4 separate regions of the Homo sapiens genome follow, and all the other regions are linked to region 1. Evidence: promoter capture Hi-C in 16 types of primary human blood cells and fetal thymus (Javierre and others, 2016). All regions are on one chromosome and are shown on one strand. Each heading gives the region's core, a stretch centred on a gene start or on the middle of the fragment in contact. The rest is flanking DNA. Distances are from core to core; before and after follow the strand shown.

What was found. The method cuts DNA at HindIII sites, captures the fragments that hold promoters and counts their contacts. A CHiCAGO score of 5 or more calls a contact.
Region 2: the fragment with the promoter of FOXD2 here is called in contact with the fragment with the promoter of CAMTA1-DT in region 1 in 1 of 17 cell types (total CD4 T cells); the score reaches 5.3 in total CD4 T cells.
Region 3: a contact is called between the fragment with the promoter of EFCAB14 here and the fragment with the promoter of CAMTA1-DT in region 1, in 1 of 17 cell types (total CD4 T cells). The highest score is 11.0, in total CD4 T cells.
Region 4: a contact is called between the fragment with the promoter of TEX38 here and the fragment with the promoter of CAMTA1-DT in region 1, in 1 of 17 cell types (non-activated CD4 T cells). The highest score is 8.4, in non-activated CD4 T cells.

Annotation. Positions count from the first base shown.
Region 1 is chr1:6,783,074-6,787,004 of GRCh38, reverse strand. It overlaps CAMTA1-DT (CAMTA1 divergent transcript), which reads left to right and starts at 2,025. Exons shown (of 3, transcript NR_149049.1): 1 at 2,025-2,347; 2 at 2,782-2,856; 3 at 2,960-3,113. It overlaps CAMTA1 (calmodulin binding transcription activator 1), which reads right to left and starts at 1,551. Exons shown (of 23, transcript NM_015215.4): 1 at 1,430-1,551. The coding sequence starts at 1,474. RefSeq lists silencers at 799-978, 989-1,258, 1,469-1,628, 1,969-2,378, 2,509-2,568 and 1 more and enhancers at 1,834-2,508, 2,509-3,185. The HindIII fragment of the contact is 4,377 bases long and covers 1,800-3,931 here.
Region 2 is chr1:47,436,295-47,440,225 of GRCh38, reverse strand. It overlaps FOXD2 (forkhead box D2), which reads right to left and starts at 2,182. Exons shown (of 1, transcript NM_004474.4): 1 at 1-2,182. The coding sequence starts at 2,090. The coding sequence ends at 603. It overlaps LINC01389 (long intergenic non-protein coding RNA 1389), which reads left to right and starts at 2,909. Exons shown (of 5, transcript NR_126355.1): 1 at 2,909-2,936. RefSeq lists an enhancer at 1-764 and silencers at 1,953-2,132, 2,163-3,062, 3,543-3,702. The HindIII fragment of the contact is 12,776 bases long and covers 1-3,931 here.
Region 3 is chr1:46,717,436-46,721,366 of GRCh38, reverse strand. It overlaps EFCAB14 (EF-hand calcium binding domain 14), which reads left to right and starts at 2,253. Exons shown (of 11, transcript NM_014774.3): 1 at 2,253-3,464. The coding sequence starts at 3,280. RefSeq lists silencers at 2,029-2,078, 2,399-2,448. The HindIII fragment of the contact is 11,051 bases long and covers 1-3,773 here.
Region 4 is chr1:46,670,143-46,674,073 of GRCh38, reverse strand. TEX38 (testis expressed 38) reads right to left here and starts at 2,220. Exons shown (of 2, transcript NM_001145474.4): 1 at 2,103-2,220; 2 at 480-1,201. The coding sequence starts at 2,139. The coding sequence ends at 618. EFCAB14-AS1 (EFCAB14 antisense RNA 1) reads right to left here and starts at 38. Exons shown (of 3, transcript NR_038828.1): 1 at 1-38. The HindIII fragment of the contact is 3,767 bases long and covers 1-3,207 here.

The sequences.
Region 1 (3,931 bases), core at 776-3,275:
AATCAAAACATCAAAAAACAAGGCCACATGACCCTTTTCCCAGTGAGGTAGTGTCAACTGATGAAGGTTGCCCCCTCCTGAGACACAAGAGTCAAGTGGAGGCAAAAATATACCCCGGTCTTCCTCAGACACAGGAGCAACTAGTGTGGCCCCTTTTCACTCAAGCACTAGGCACAATGGAAGCCCTGCCCTACATCTTATTGGGGCGCCCACTCTCACCCAGACAAGGAACTCCGAGAAGAGAGAACAAGTCAGTGTAGACACACAAATGGCGAAAGGAGCACGGTGAACGTCCAGTTGTCTCCATAAGAAAAGGAGGGCAACTCAAAGGGTATTTAGGAAATGAGCTCGCCCTAACCCAGCAAAGTGTAAGAGTATGCATGATCTGGAAGAAGTGTCTGCTTTCCTATTTAGAAATGACTTCAGAGCTGCACAAGCCCCCACTATCCACTGGGTGAGGAAAGAAGAACATGGGCAGCCTGAGTCCCCTTGTCCTGGCAAAAAGGGTCAACGGAGAGTGTGCAGAGGCCCCAAAAGAATCCAAAGAAGATGAGCAGATCAGACGGACCCCTGTGCCAAGGAAGGATCGGGGTCACGGAAGGTAAAGGGCAAGGGAGTGTGGAGATCCTCACTTGCCATAGAAACGGAGACCCCACCCTCCTGGCTGTGAGGGTGCAAGGGCAAGAGTAGGATGTGAACGACTGCGAGGGGCGGGGATGCTGCGCAGGCCCCCTTCCCTTCCCGGGAAGCGAAGGGGGAGGGGTCACACGAGGCCCTTCGGCCGAGGGACGCTCGGCAGGACGGGGTCCCCCTGGCGGGGAGAAGCTCGGGGACCCCCCGCCCGCTCAGGGAGGTGTCCACGGGGCTGAAGAGGGTGCCGGAGAGAGTACATCTGGCCCTGCCCGCCGGAGAGCAGGGGGCCGGCGAGGGCTGAGCGCCGGCCGCTGCCGCCCGACGGGGACCGGCCCGGAGCAGTGGGGCGCGGGGCCAGGAGGACCCGAGGCGGATAAACTTTCCGCCCCGCGGCCCCCACCGTGGACCCAGCGCCGGGGGTGCGGGGGCCGCGCAGCGGGCTCGGGAGCGGCGGGGATGCCCGGTCCGGGTGGGGGAGGCGCCGGCCCTCCGCCGGCTCCTCCTCCTCGCTGGGCCCGGTCCCCGCCCCGCGAGCCCCCCGCCCCCTCCGGCCCCAGCCCGCCCCCGGGGGTGGGGTGTGGGGCGCCGCGCTCCGCCGGCCCCGCGAGTCACCTCAGGACTCGGCCGCGCTCCGCCCCCCCACCCCGCCGGCCCCCTCCCCGGCCGGGTCGCCCGCCCGCCCGCCCGCCGCGCCCCCGCGCTCCCGCCCGGCGCCGCCGATGCCCGGGATGTCCGGCGGGGCCGGGTCCCGCCGCCCGCCGCGCCGCCCCCCAGCCCCTCGCGCTCCGGCTCTTACCTTCCGGCTTGTTTTCGGCAGCCATTTCCCCTCCGCGCGCCACATCCTCCTCCTCCTCGCGACCGGGACCCCGAGCGCGCGCCTCGTACCGCCGCCGCCGCCGGCCCAGCCACCCCGCCGCCGCCGCGCACCCGCCCTGGCCCCGCCCCGCGGCCCACGCACAGCTCCCGTTGGGCCGTGCGGCTGCCACTCATCGCTCCCGCCGCCAATCGCCCCGCACCAGGGGTCTCACTACTCTCCGGGAGGAGCGTCCTATCCATCCGGCCCATTGGCTGGTCACCACCCAACGGACTGAAAGGATTGGTCAAGAATCAACGCCCCCTCCCCACCCACTCCCAGGAAAGCCCGCCTTCCGGACCTAAACAAAGCTTCCTAGTGGCCAGAACCCGAAAGAACTGTCCAATCAGGACGGGCCCGACACGGAATATTTCCTCGAGGCCGAGACGTGGCGTTTTGATTGGGCGTCACTACAGTGTTTCCCAGGCCGTCCAGACCAATCAAAGGGGGTTCCCGGAACTCGGGAGCGGCGAAGGGAAGCCCCGCCCCCGAGCGTGACCGTCATGAGGAAGGCGCTCCCTCATTGGCACGCTGGGGCTTTTCCCGCGTGCTCCCGGGGCTGAAGGACGTTCCCGGGGAAGCCGCTGCTGGCGCGTGGGGTCCCGGTGGCTGTGGGGGACGCGCCGGGATCTCCGGGATCCCGCAGCCCGCCGCCGCTGCCGGTGGGGAGCCGGACGCGGGGGGCCTCGGGGCTGAGGTCCGCAGGGGTGCCGCGCCCTGGAGTCCGACTGCCTAGGAGTCCGGGCGTCGCTGCCGGCCGTGGGGGAGGGGCGAGCCTCCCGCCAGGCCCCGCCCCCTCGGCGCCGCGTCCCCACGGCCCCGGCGCCGCCCGCCTGCGCCCGCCTCCTGTGCCCGCCCCCGGTGAGCTCCGTTGTCCCCTTTTCTGGCGGCTTAAAATACCGAAACTTTATTTTGGTCACGTTGCCCATGTGACCCGCGGAGCGGATGACTCATGGTTGCCTGTCCCAGGATGAGGCCGCCGGCCGAAAGCAGAGAAGCGCCAGCCCCGGCCGCCCGGGTGGAGCGCTGGGCAGCCGAGTTTCCCACCCTCCTCAATCCGGAGAGTCCGCGCGGGGCTTTTCCTAATAAATAGCCAGGCACCCGCTGCCCTCGCGCTGCGTACGGGAGCACGTGCCCCCCGGGAGGTGGGCGCCCGCCAGGTGCCCCGGGAACGAGCCTAGGAACCGGGTCCGCCGAGTGCGGCTCTCGGGGCGGCTAGGCGTGCGGGTGGCTGGGCAGCGCTCCCAGGGACCGGCCTCTCTCCGGAGAAAGTAAGGAATTCTGCTCCTGGGCAGGTAATACCGGAAACAAAAGGAGAGGCTGCAATCGCAAATTGTTTAAAAAGAAGAAAAAGGAAAGAAAAGTTGAATGTAAGAGCTCCAGCCCCTCAATGTGATCTTGTACGGTTTGCAGTAAGAACATTTCATTCTTCCGCATTTTATTTTTCCTTTTGCTACTGTTGGTGACAACTAGCAAAATAAGTGAAAAATCCTCGTTCAAGTGTTCTGGCATTAAGATTGACTGTCACACTGAATTCTGTGCCAATCCTAACAACATGTGTTCTTTTTCTGGTCTTCACAAGTAAGAATGTCTTAGGTTTTCCAGAAATAAAGATGTCCCAAAAGAATGTTTTGTGTTACACACTCATTCTTCAAGAAACTTTAATTTTATGAGCCTCAAAAATTGCAAAATTTTAACAACGGCGGGACAATATTTTATCGATTAGCATTCTTAATAGCACCTATGTTGACGATTTGTGTGGAGAAACGGATTCTTAAAAGAAGTGCTGGTGGCATTGTAAATTAGTATATTCCTTTCGAAAAGCAATTTTACAGTATGTATTAAAAGCCATAAAAATGTCTGCATCTTTTGACCCAGTGATCTTACTTCTGGGAATCTGTTCTAAGGAAATAACACTAAATGCCAGAAAAGCTGTATGTGTGAAGGTATTCTTCACAGGATCACTGTACTTAACTACAACAAAAAATTGGGAGCATCCTACATGTGCTAATATTGGGTATTTAGTAAATTGTGTTACATCTACACAGTGGAACATTATGGTAGTTGTAGACATCAGAAACAGAAAATCACCCATTGCTAGATAGAGGGGGCAATACCCAAAATTATGGTGTTCATTTATGAGGTGAGATGATAGGCTAAAAAAACTGCATTTTAAAAAAGACCGATACAGGCCGGGTGCAGTGGTTCACGCCTGTCAATCCTAGCACTTTGGGAGGCCAAGGTGGGCAGATCACTTGAAGCCAGGAGTTCGAGACCAGCCTGGCCAGCATGACAAAACCCCGTCTCCACTAAAAATATAAAAATTAGGTGGGCAAGGTGGCAGGCGCCTGAGGTCTCAGCTACTTGGAAGGCTGAGGCAAGAGAATTGCTTGAACCCAGCGGGCAGAGGTTGCAGTGAGCCAATATCGCACCACTGCACTCCAG
Region 2 (3,931 bases), core at 933-3,432, about 41 Mb before region 1:
ATAAAGACCCCCTGCTTCACCTCTCCGTTCAGCTCCGCCTGCGTAGACACTGGTTTAGGCTTCAGAGGAAACGAACTTCCTTGGAGAACAGCAAAAAAAAAAAAAAAAAAAAAAAGGTTGAATTTTTCTTTTAAGCACAAAGCAGATAATAGATGTCTTTAAATTATAATATTGGACAAGCAGGGTCTCAACGTTGGGGAAGAAGTGAGAGGGGAAAGGCAGAAAGGGAGACCCTCTGTTGGTGTTTCTGGCGGGATCCGTGGAGCCTGGCCAGGCATCTCTCCCGGAATGTGTTCCCCGAGAGGCGCAGAGGCAGGGAAAAAAACGAAGCCCCCACCCCCCTGCTTTTATTTCTCAAACTGTAAAGAATCTTGGCCTGCGACTTCTTCGCGTAGCCCCGGGCCTGTCGCCCTGAGCGATAGAGCCCGCTTAGTCCCAACTATCTGCGAGATTCTGTGCGTGGAGCCTGAAGTGCCGTGTCACGCGTGCCGGCCCAAGGTCTGGAGACTTCATAAATAGACTCCCTGAGTTCCGCTGGGACCGCAGGAACTCCCGGGAGAGGCTGAGGAGTGCGGACCTAACCGGCCCTGGGCCTGCTGCGGTCAGAAGTGGCAGCCACTAAGGCCGGCGACTTTGCTGGCAAACCGGGACCCTGAGGACAGCAGCGCGTCCCCGGGATGCGAGAGGCGAATGTGGCCAGCAACGGGAGCCAGGGCCGGAGCAGTCAGCATGGCCAAGACCTGGGCTTGGCCCCCAGGACCCGCGGCTGCCGCGAATGGCGGTCCCGGAGAGCCCTCGCCGGCGCCCGGGGGTGCTGCCCCGCCGCCACCGTGGCCCATGATGTGGTCTATAGAGAAGGAAGGCCTCTGCCCTGCCCCGGCGCCCCCGCCGCCTGCACCACCGCCCGCGTCCGTCTTGAGGCCCTGGCGCAGAAGTGCGGTGGGCAGACCCGCCGCGGTGCCGGCTGCGGGAGGACTCAGGGACGCCGCGTAGAAGGCTTTGGCGCAGCCCAGCTCCGCGCCCAGGAAGGCGGGCAGGCCTGCGGGGCCCGGGCCCGGGCCCGAGCCTGAGGCAGGCGCAGGAGCTGGGGCCGATCCCGCGCCTGCGAACACCGAGGCCGTCGGAGGTCCGGGTGGAGGCGCGGCGGCGCGGCCTGGGGGTACCGACAGCTGGCAAGGAGCGGCGGCGGCTGCCGCGGCGAAAGCGAAGGCGTGCGGGTGCGGGTGCGGATGCGGGGCCGGCCCCGGCGGGGGTGCGCCGTAGGCCGGGAGAGCCAGCCCGTAGCCGTAGCCGTAGGCGCCGTAGGCAGCGAAGCCGGGCAGGAAAGCGCCGGGATCCCCCGCCGCCGCGGCCCCGCCACGCAGCAGCAGCTCCGGGTGAGGGTGCGGGTGTGGGTGCGGCGGCGGCAGGGGCTGCCGCTTGAAGCGCTTGCGACGCCGCAGGAAGCTGCCGTTGTCGAACATGTCGGCCGACTCCGGGTCCAGCGTCCAGTAGTTGCCCTTGCCCGGGTTGCCCGGCTCGCGGGGGATCTTGACGAAGCAGTCGTTGAGAGAGAGGTTGTGGCGGATGCTGTTCTGCCAGGCGGGGAACTTCTCCCGGTAGTAGGGGAAGCGGCCGCTGATGAACTCGCAGATCTCGCTCAACGTCAGCCGCTTCTTGGGGCTCTGCAGGATGGCCATGGTGATGAGCGCGATGTACGAGTAGGGCGGCTTCACCAGCGGGCTCCGCGTCGCCGCGCCCCCCGACGGCGGTCCCGGCCCGGGCCCCGCTGCGCCGCGGGCCGCCGCGGCGCCTGGCCCCGGGCTCCCCGCTGCGGCCGCCGCCCCCCGGGACGCCAGAGCGCGGGGCTCGCCGTCCGAGCAGCCACCAGACTCCTCCTCGTCCTCGGCTAAGTCTGCCTCGGCTTCCTCCGCGGGAGGCTCGTGGCCGTGGGGGAGCACGTCCCGGGGGGCGCGGGGCCCGGAGCGAGCTGGGAGCTCCCCCCCGCCGCTGCCGCCGCCCACCACGTCTATGTCTGCGTCGGCCTCGGACAGCGCGGCCGGGGAGCTCTCGGAGGACATGATCTCGCAGCAGCAGCTGCCCAGGGTCATGGTGCCGCTGCCGCCGCCGCCGCCACTCTCCGGCTCCGCTCCGGCAGCGGCTCGGGCTCGGCCGCGCTGCCTCTGGGGCGAGTGCGTTTTGCGCGCGGGCGGGGAGGGGGCGGGGGACTGAGGCAGGCAGGGAGGGGTGTCCCCCGGCTCCGCAGCGCCCCCTGGCGGCCCAGCTCGGCCGCGCTCACCTTCCAGGGCACGACCCGCCGGCGGCCCCCGCCACTACCCCGGGAATCCGAGCTGGGACCCGCCGCTGGGGCGCAACGGAAGGAGCTGAGGCTTTCCCTTACCTGGGCGGGCCTCAGCCCCTAGTCCCCTCGGGGTGGCAGTGGTTGGTGGTGGGGGATTGTCCCTCCCGCCTAGCGGCTGCCTAAGGCGGAAGAGCTGCGGGCTAGGGCGGAGCTCCCTGGGCGGGGTGGGGCGAGGCGACAGGGGCGGGCGTAGCGCCTCCGCTGAGGGACCCGGCGGGAACAAACCGCCGCCGCGGCGGGAGCTGGGCTCGAGTGGCCGGAGGCGGGCCCTTGTCTTCGCCGCCGCTCCTGCACCCTGTGCTCCCTGAAGCCGCCGCCTTCAGAACGCTCAGCCCCTGGATGTTAAGGCTCACTCGGGCGCCAGCCGCAGCCAGGGAAGTGGCGGCGGTCCCCACCCGTCCTCTCCCCAAGGCGGCGCCCGGGCCACCGGGCCGAAGCGCAGTGGGAGCGCGAGGCTGAGACGCCGGGACCCACGCCGCCCCAGCGCGGCCCGCCGGCGCCCACCCGAGCCCGCACGGCTTCCAGCCCGAGGGGAGACGCATTCGAGTGATCACCAGGAGCGAACTTGGCGCCCGCAGCCTTGGGCCTGGGAGAGGTGAGATTGCGGCGGCGCCCTCTCCTCCCTCCGCTGTCGGGCCCGCCACCCCTCTCCGCGCGGAGAGGCCGGGCAGAGCGCCGGCCGCTGTGGCCGCGTTCCCGGGGCGCGGGCCGGTCTACTGCTCCGAGTTTGCCTGTTCTCCGACCCTCTGGATCTCGGCATCCGTTTGTCTCAGTCTCTGTGACTATCTCACTCTCCGTGAGTCTCTGTGGAAACGGCATTTGTCTGGATGTCTGTTCATGGGTCTGGGAATCCGCTTAATTTCTCCCTCCCCTCTCCCTGGCCCCAGTTGCCCTGAGGACTGGACACCCCCCACCTTCCTGGCTCCCAGGGTTCTGGGCCCCACCGACAGGCGGCAGGACCTCCTCCGCCCCCTGCCCGACACCCCCTCAGTGAACCCTGACCTCCACCAAGTGTTGCCTTCATCTCTCAAAAGTCTTGTGCAACTAAGGTTGGCCCTGTGCCTTGTTTCTCGCTAGCCGGGTTCCTGCCCATCCTATTAGACCTCTTTCTCCCCCGGCCTCCCTCCAGGACCCAGAAACAAGCAGCTTCAACACAGATTGGGCCCATTTCAGCCTCTGGGGCACGGAAGGGGAGATGGGCGCTGGACGTGAGCAGGAACTGAGCGGATGCCTGGGCTGCTGCCCCGACAGCGCCGCACAGTGGCTAAAGCTCGGGCGTGCGAGGCCGGAATCCCAGCTGCCTCCGCTGTAGCAAGGCTGTGTGACCCTCATTAGGTGACTTCCCCGCTTCGGAGCCTCAGTTTCCTGGTCTGCATAGTAGTTAAGAGCAGCGACCTTAAGTCAGGCTCCTGGGGTTCCAATCCTGCCTTCACTACTTACCCTATCTGTCACCTTGGGCAAGGTTCTTTGCGCTTTGTTTCTGCCTTTGTAAAAATGAGGCTAGTAACACCTACCTCAGAACTGATGTATAAGTGTAGCCATATTCTAGGCCATTTAGGAAAGGGTACTGAGAACACTTTGCAGTTTCAT
Region 3 (3,931 bases), core at 1,004-3,503, about 40 Mb before region 1:
CTTGGGGCTTCAAAAACACTTTCACATTCATCTCATTGTCCTGTGAAATAGGTGTTTATCCCCATTTTACAGAGGAGAAAACTGAAGCTCAGAGAAACTAAACGGCTTCCATGCTGATGGAGCCAGGAAGAAGTAGAGACATGATTGAGTCCCAGGTTTCTTGATTTTGATTCCAAAAGTCCACTCATACCTCTTTGCAACACTGCCCACTTATGTAGTCATCACATATTTATTGGGTCATCGTTATTTAGGAGTACACTTCTGGGCTAGACACTTAAAAACAAATCAGATACAGGCCCAGGCTTTGCGAGAATCCTTGGACAAAAGCAGCGTAATTGCCACAGTAAGAATATGGGCATAAAAATTACTTTAAGTGACTTTCTTCCAAGTAGCTCAAAGCACTTTGCTTTAAATTCCATTTATATCTGATGACTTCCCAATTGATATTTCAGGCCCCAACCTGTGCCCAGAGAACTCTCAATGGGTATACCAAACAGCCTCCATTTGAATATTGAATTGGCTTGTCAAACTTGTCCCAAACTTGCTCTACCCCATCTCAATAAATAACAATTCCTTGCTTCCAGTGTTTCCACCGCCAAACCCTCTCTTCTCTTCACACCTTTCATCTAATCTATCAGCAAAAATTGTCAGCTCTGTCTTCAAGAAACATCCAGAATGCTCTCCATCTCTGCTACTGCCTCTCTAATCTATCAGCATCATCTCTAGCTGGACTGTAACAAACTGCTCTCCTGTGTTCCTCACTCTCCCCCCACTTTTTTCTACAAAGTAGCCAGAGTAATTTTTTCCTTTATTTTATTTTATTTTATTTATTTATTTATTTATTTATTTATTTATTTATTTATTTATTTATTTATTTTTGAGACGGAGTCTCGCTCTGTTGCCAGACTGAAGTGCAGTGGTGCAATCTCGGCTTGTTGCAACCTCCGCCTCCCGGTTTCAAGCCATTCTCTTGCCTCAGCCTCCCAAGTAGCTGGGATTACAAGCGCGCACCACCACGCCCAGGTAATTTTTGTATTTTTAATAGAGACAAGGTTTCACCATATTGGCCAGGATGGTCTCCATCTCCTGACCTTGTGATCCGCCCACCTCAGCCTCCCAAAATGCTGGGATTACAGGCGTGAGCCATCGCGCTGGCCCAGAGTGAATTTTTTTTTTTTTTTTTTTTTTTACGGAAAAGCCAGAGTATGCTACCTCTCAGCTTAAAGCCCCCAGTGCTTTCCCAAAGTCCTTTCAGTGATCCATAAGGCCCTAAAGCCCTGGCCTCTGATGCTTCTCTGACCTCATTTCCTATCACTCTGCTCCTTGCTCTTCTGGTCCAGCCACAACAGGTCTTCCTGGTCACTCCTTCCTGCAGCCACTGCACAGCTCATTCCCTCACCTCTCCTCCGATAAGCTGACTAAATGTTCCCTTTTCACAGAGGCACTCCCCATCACCTGACCGTGTTTCAATTTTCATCATAACACTTATCACCTCCTGACATTTAATATGTTTGCCTATTGTTGCTCTCCTCCCTCTAGAGTATAAATAAACTGCAGGAATAGATTGGCAGATAAGATACACGATGCTCAGTTAAACTTGCATTTCACATACACAATGAATAATTTTTTAGTGTGAGGATGTCCCAGATGTTGCATGGGATGTCTTAATGCTAAAAAATTGTTTGCTGTTTCTCTGAAATTCAAACTTTACTGGGTGTCCTACATTTTTATTTGCTAAATCTGGCAACACTATACAGGAAGACAAGGACCCTGGTTATTTTGTTCATGGCTGTATCCCCAGCGCTAGAACAGCTCCTGACACGTAGTAAGTAAGCTCTCAATAAATATTTATTGACTGAATGAATGTGTTAATTAATCTGAAACGCGCCTAAACTTTTAACAGCCTGTGTGAGAGTCAGAGAGGCGGAGCCTTCAGACTTGGTTAGTCCAGGGGGCGTGGGCGGCTGATGAACTTTCGAAGTAGGTCGAGCAGCCGGGCGCTTTGCCTGCCCCGCCCGCGCTCCGCAGGATGCAGGACTCCACCCGGCTCAGGTTCGCAGCAGGTCCCGGAAGCCCTCCTGGGGGCGGGGCCACCCTAATCGGCAGGTGGGACCCAGCCCCAGCCGGGGCAGGGCCCCTTTAACGCCCCACCTCTCCGCCACGACTTTCGCCCCGGCGTGACGTCACCCCAGCGGGCGACCAATGGGAGTGCGGCTTACTGGCAGGCGGCGCAGGCGGCCGCTGCCAAAGGGGAAGTGATCTGGGGCTGGAGCGATGGCCCGGGGCTGGAGCTCGCGGCCGCCGCCGCCGCAGCCGCCGCCACCAACGCCAACAACAACGTGTCGGGAGCAGCCGCGGCCGAAGCCGGAGCAGGGGCCGGAGTCGCGGCTGGAGTGGGGCCTGCGCGTGTGAGTGGCCGAGAGTTGCCCGTGCCGGAGACCTCAAACTCCGGGCGGGAGCGCTTTCGGTCGGCCGAGCCGCCGTCGCCCGCGGCACCGTGTCCCCAAGGCCCAGACAGCGGGGCGGGGGTCTATCAGGCGCGGGACTGGCTTCTCTCAGGCCGACCCTTCTAGCCGGGCTCCGGATCTTCCTCGGCCTCGGGCCCCCTTCACGTTCAGGACGGAGGCCGGAGAACGGTGATCATCACACACCCCAGCCGGCTTCCTGGCCAGGGCATTTTCTCTGCGGCCAAGCAGTGTTGGGATTGTAGCTGCTGGGAGCCCCCTCCTGCCGCCACCTCTCCTGCAAGGAAGGGACTGACGCGTTCCCACTTTCTTACTCTGCACCTCCCCACTCTCTTCCCATTCAAGAACGAGTTTCTCTTCCCTCTCCATTGGAAATCTTGCTCCGGAGGTCCGAAACACGTATTTTAAGCGTGCCCTTCCTCACCTCCTGGAGCACCCTTAGAAGTATTGCCTACTTATCCGGGCTGAGAATCCTTCATTTTTGACCTGGCTTTTTTTTCGCCCTTTGGGAGATAAAGGTCCCTCTCCACCCTCTACTAACACTCTGCACCCAAGGCCTTATCCTTTGGGGTCACCAGCTCCTTGGCCATTTCTATGTGATTTCCCCCACCCATCTGAGTTCCAGTTTCCTCTGGGCTCCAATCTCCAGTCCCTGGCGGATCTGGTCAGTCCCACCCCTAGGTGGGAGTGACCAGGGGGCTCTGGCCCAGGATTCCCAACCCTGGAAGGCAGCTCCAAGGCAGGAAGAGAATTGGGCATCGGGTACGAACCTGGCAGCTCAGGAGTCGGGGCTCCACTCACCCCACACAAAAAGATGAAAAAGCGCAAAGAGCTCAATGCATTGATTGGTTTGGCTGGGGACAGCCGGAGAAAGAAGCCCAAGAAAGGCCCAAGCAGTCACCGCCTGCTTCGCACTGAGCCTCCCGACTCAGACTCTGAGTCCAGCTCCGAAGAGGAAGAGGAATTCGGTGTGGTTGGAAATCGCTCTCGCTTTGCCAAGTGAGTAGTGGTGAAAGGTGGAATGGGAAGAAGGCATCTCCTTGCACTACCAAGGGGCCACATTGACAGGAAGGAGAAAGGAAGTCCTTAGGAAGAAAAAAGGGTGTAGGCCTTGGAAGTCAAAGAGGGAAAAACGGTTTTAGGGAGAAGGTAAGTTCAGATCCTGAATGAAGAATAAGTTAGAGATCTGTCTTTAGGTGTAGAAAGAAAAGCTCCAAATCTGAGGTGGAAATGTGGACTTGGAGAATGTGCCAAGAGCCCAGGGAGTCCTAAAGAAGCAAAGAATGGAGACAGAGGAGCAGAGAAGCTTTGGGGACTAGACTTTTTAAAACAGTGTAGAACAAAGGAGAAGCAGAGACTTTAAGACTGCAGATTATTTCGTTTTTGCACTCTTGATGAGTCTGAATATTGGTGGTGGGGAAATATGGTGAGAGATATACTGTAGGAAGTATGAGCCTTGAGAGTAG
Region 4 (3,931 bases), core at 971-3,470, about 40 Mb before region 1:
CATGATATCCATTTGGCAGTGTTCTTGTGAATTATTAGAAATAATGTAAAGAGGCAACCACGTAAGAGCTGCATACATCATAGATAATAACAAAGAATGCATTTCAGCCCATAGTGCAGTGTGGCTCACAGGGCTCGTGATGACTCATTTTGCCTGTGACATAGCGACTGTAAATCAACATAGCTCACGTACCCTCAGCAGCTATCACTCTGGTGGCAGCTGTGCTTCACATCCCACAGAACACCAGTGCCTTGGGGTACCTAGGCCAGGGCCTGGCACACATTTTTGTTTTAAATACTGAACAGAGGGATATTGAGTCCATCCACAAGTACTGGTTCAGTGTGTCTCCCCACAGCCAACCACCAGTGCCAGTTCATATTGGTGAGACTCAGCAACCAACTTGGTTTGCAAAGTGACCCCATCAGACAGGAAGGACATTGCCTTCCTAACAGCAAATGAGAAACGAGGGAGCCTTGGACTTTTTTTTTTTTCTTTTAATGTTTCATAGCATGACATCCAGGTGGGTCCTGACCTCTGTCAATACCACCTTCCTGAGGTTAGTTCCATTTCCTACTCTGCACCTGATTCCTGCAGCTCCCACCTTCAGTGAGAGGAGGCTACAGTTCTGAAGGAAAAGGCTTGGCATTGAAGCTATGGTCTTCCTGGGCCAGATTCAGGAGGGAATGGAAGAGAACATTCCTTTCAGGACAGGTGGCCAAAGGATAGGAGACAGAGTGGTTCAGCAGGGGGGGTAGGTTGCACAAGGGTGGGGCAAAGGGCACCTCCTGAAAGATGGGAAGTGGGAATGGGGATCTGGCCTGGGGCTGCTGTGGAGCCAGCTGCAGTGCAGGTTGCAGGGGAGCAGGGGCTTCCGCCTTGGGGTTGCTGTCTTGGTCAGCATGGCTCCTGCCTTCGGGGATGTCCAAATCCCACAGAACATCTGGATTCTGGACCTCAGTCTCAGTCTTGGTGACAGCAGGGGCAGGGCCCGTGTTGATGGCTGCATTCATGCCGTAGCGCCGTCGCTTGTTAATCCAGTACAACAATGGGCTGTAGGTGAATGTGGCAGCTCTCATCACCTCCACCCACTGCTGGGCATGCTCTTCCCGCCTCAAGTTCTTCCTCCAGTGCAGAAAGATAATGCACCCTCCAGTTATCACAGAACACAGCCCCAGGATTCCAAAGTACAATGAGACCCACACTAAGGCAGCAAGAAAGAAAAAGAGGCATGCTGGCTGATAGCTGTAGCTTGGGGCCTGAGCTGTTTCTCATTCCTCTTTCACTTAACCCATGCATCAATCGCTCCATCCACTTAACTACTCTCACCGTTCCTTCCCTCCCTTATTGACTTGCCTCATCATTCCCTTATTCAGTCAAAGCTAGATTTCCAGGGAGCTTAAGCACCACCTTTAACTCTTTACAGATCACAAAAGCTAGGTCTAGCGGGGGCATGTGCTGCCCAGGCTCAGTCAAGCCTCTGATTCCTAACCCAGGACCCATCCAATCCATCAGACTGAGAAGTTTCACTATGGGCAAGTCCATCAAGAAGCAAAAGTTCACCAGCACTTTGTGAGGCCCAGGTGGGCAGATCACTTGAGGTCAGGACTTCAAGTCCAGCCTGGCCAACATGGTGAAACCCCGTCTCTACTAAAAATTTTAAAATTAGCCAGGTGTGGTGGTGCATGCCTGCAGTCCCAGCTACTTCAGAGGCTGAGGCAGGAGAATCACTTGAATCCAGGAGGTGGAGGTTACAGTGAGCCTAGATTGAGCCACTGCACTCCAGCCGGGGCAACAGAGCAAAACTTCATCTCAAAAAAAAAAAAAAAAGTGAAAGTTCATCAGTTGACAGAGACACCAATGTCCCATCCCATTCCATTCAGCTGTGATAGTCCTGGGCTATTGATAGTATCTTCTCTGGTTGATCAGAGCATGGTCTTTGCCTTAAAATAATTCTTAGTTTTCTAGAGTAGACTATCTCCTAACTGCTTAGCTCTCCTCCAGGCAGCCAGGCACTGTCCCATCCATGCAAAGGGCCTTCCCTGAGTGTTTGTCCCCAAGCCCTAAGGCACAAGTCCAGTGACAGGGACTGGAGGAGCACTTACTCCCAGGGAAGCGCAGGTCCTCCTGTTGGGAATCCATACAGCTGAGCTTTGGTACCTGGCCGATGGCTCTGGGGAGAGGGAACTCACCCACCCATCTGCCCAGCCAGTCAGCCCATCTGCCCAGCCAATCAGAGTCTCCAGAATGCCCAGGCCCTTTGTTCTCTAAAGGAGAGGTCACTGGGTTCTGAGAATTGGGCATTCTAGGGGCAGTGCTTGTGAAGTGGTCCTGGGTTAATGGAAGGAGGGGACTTCATCCAGTGGCATTTTTTGGGTGGAATGTCACTACTACTTCCATCAGAGACTGGTTCACCTATTGAATTGTCTGTACCTACCCCTTATGGTGAACCCACAGAGCAGACCCCAGAAAAGGGCCATTGTCCCTCAGGTACTTACGGATGTTGCTGGTCTTTAGGGAACGGTTGATGGGATACCTGTCCCCAGTGAGGAATGTAACAAGGAACACACAGCATTGGGCAGCCCTGTTCTCAAAAAGTATCTAACCAAGTTGGCAGGAAGAAACCTGCTCAAGGGAACCAAGTGGTCAATACCTCCTTCTTTGGCTCCAACAATCTGTCTTTTATTTAATTACCTTCCTTCAAGTGCTGACAAGTGTTTCCCAGGCCCCAGGCCCTGTGGGGCTTCCCACCATCTGGCCTGCATCTACTTCCAGCCTTACTTCCCTCCTCGTCCTCCACACACTTTTCCCTTTTGCCTAGTCCGTACTCCTGAACAGACCCTGCTCATTCACATCTCTGGAGGTGTGCCCATGCTGCTCCTTCACCCAGGAGTGCCCCTGCCCACTTTTCCACCACTGAACACCTGCTCATCCTTCAAGACTCAGCTCAGCCCCCCTACTCTGTGACAGACTGCCCAGAATCATATCATCGCCAATTTGAAGAAACTTTGAGAGTTGTCTAGTTCATCTCCACCATCTGATCCCACCATCAGGGCCATGCTTGACTCCTGGGGGTAGATTTTTCCCCACACAGCAACTAATCTCCCTGGACTCAAGACTCACTTGAGTCAGGAACTTGCTCACCACCTCCTGAGGCAGCTTGATGCATTTATGGGCAGCTCAGTTAGAAAGCCCTTCCCTAATTAAGCTTAAGTCAGCCTTCCCAGTATGTTGCACCACTGCTTGTAGCTCAGCTTCTTAGCACCATTTTAATGACTCCCCTCTTTATAGTCCTCCAATGTGTGACTTAGGGAACTATTTAGCACAGAATTCTCTCCAGGGTCCACTTACCCTTGTTCTCCTCGTATATCACTGGCCCCTACTTTCCAGTCTCCTTTGCTGGTTTCTCCCTTTTCCCCTGATCTCTAAATGTAGGCATGTCTAGGGCTCAGTTCTTAGTGCTCTATCTACATTCATTCCATCAGTTATCTCACCCAGACCCCTGGCTTTAAATATCACTATACACTGACAGTACGCAACTGTATCTCTCCAGCCTGGAATGCTCCTCAGAACTTTAGACTCATACCCAAATACCTGGTTGACATCCCTCCTTGCCAGTCTGTTAAATTATCCCAAACCAACATGTCCAAAACCAAACTCTGATTATCCATCCTCCAAAGTCTACCCTACCTACAGCCTTCCTCCTCTTCATAAGTAGTATCTCTGTCCTTCGGGTTGTTCAGGCCAAAAACCTGCAAGTCATCCTTGACTCCTTTCATTCTATCACACCCACACTGACTCCATCAGCAAGATCTTTAGGCTTTTATTTCAAAATATAACCAAAATCTGGCCACTTTTTTTTATCACTATCACTTTAGTCCAAGTACCACCATCTCTCACTTGGATTACTGTTCCCTGTAGGGTGACCAACATC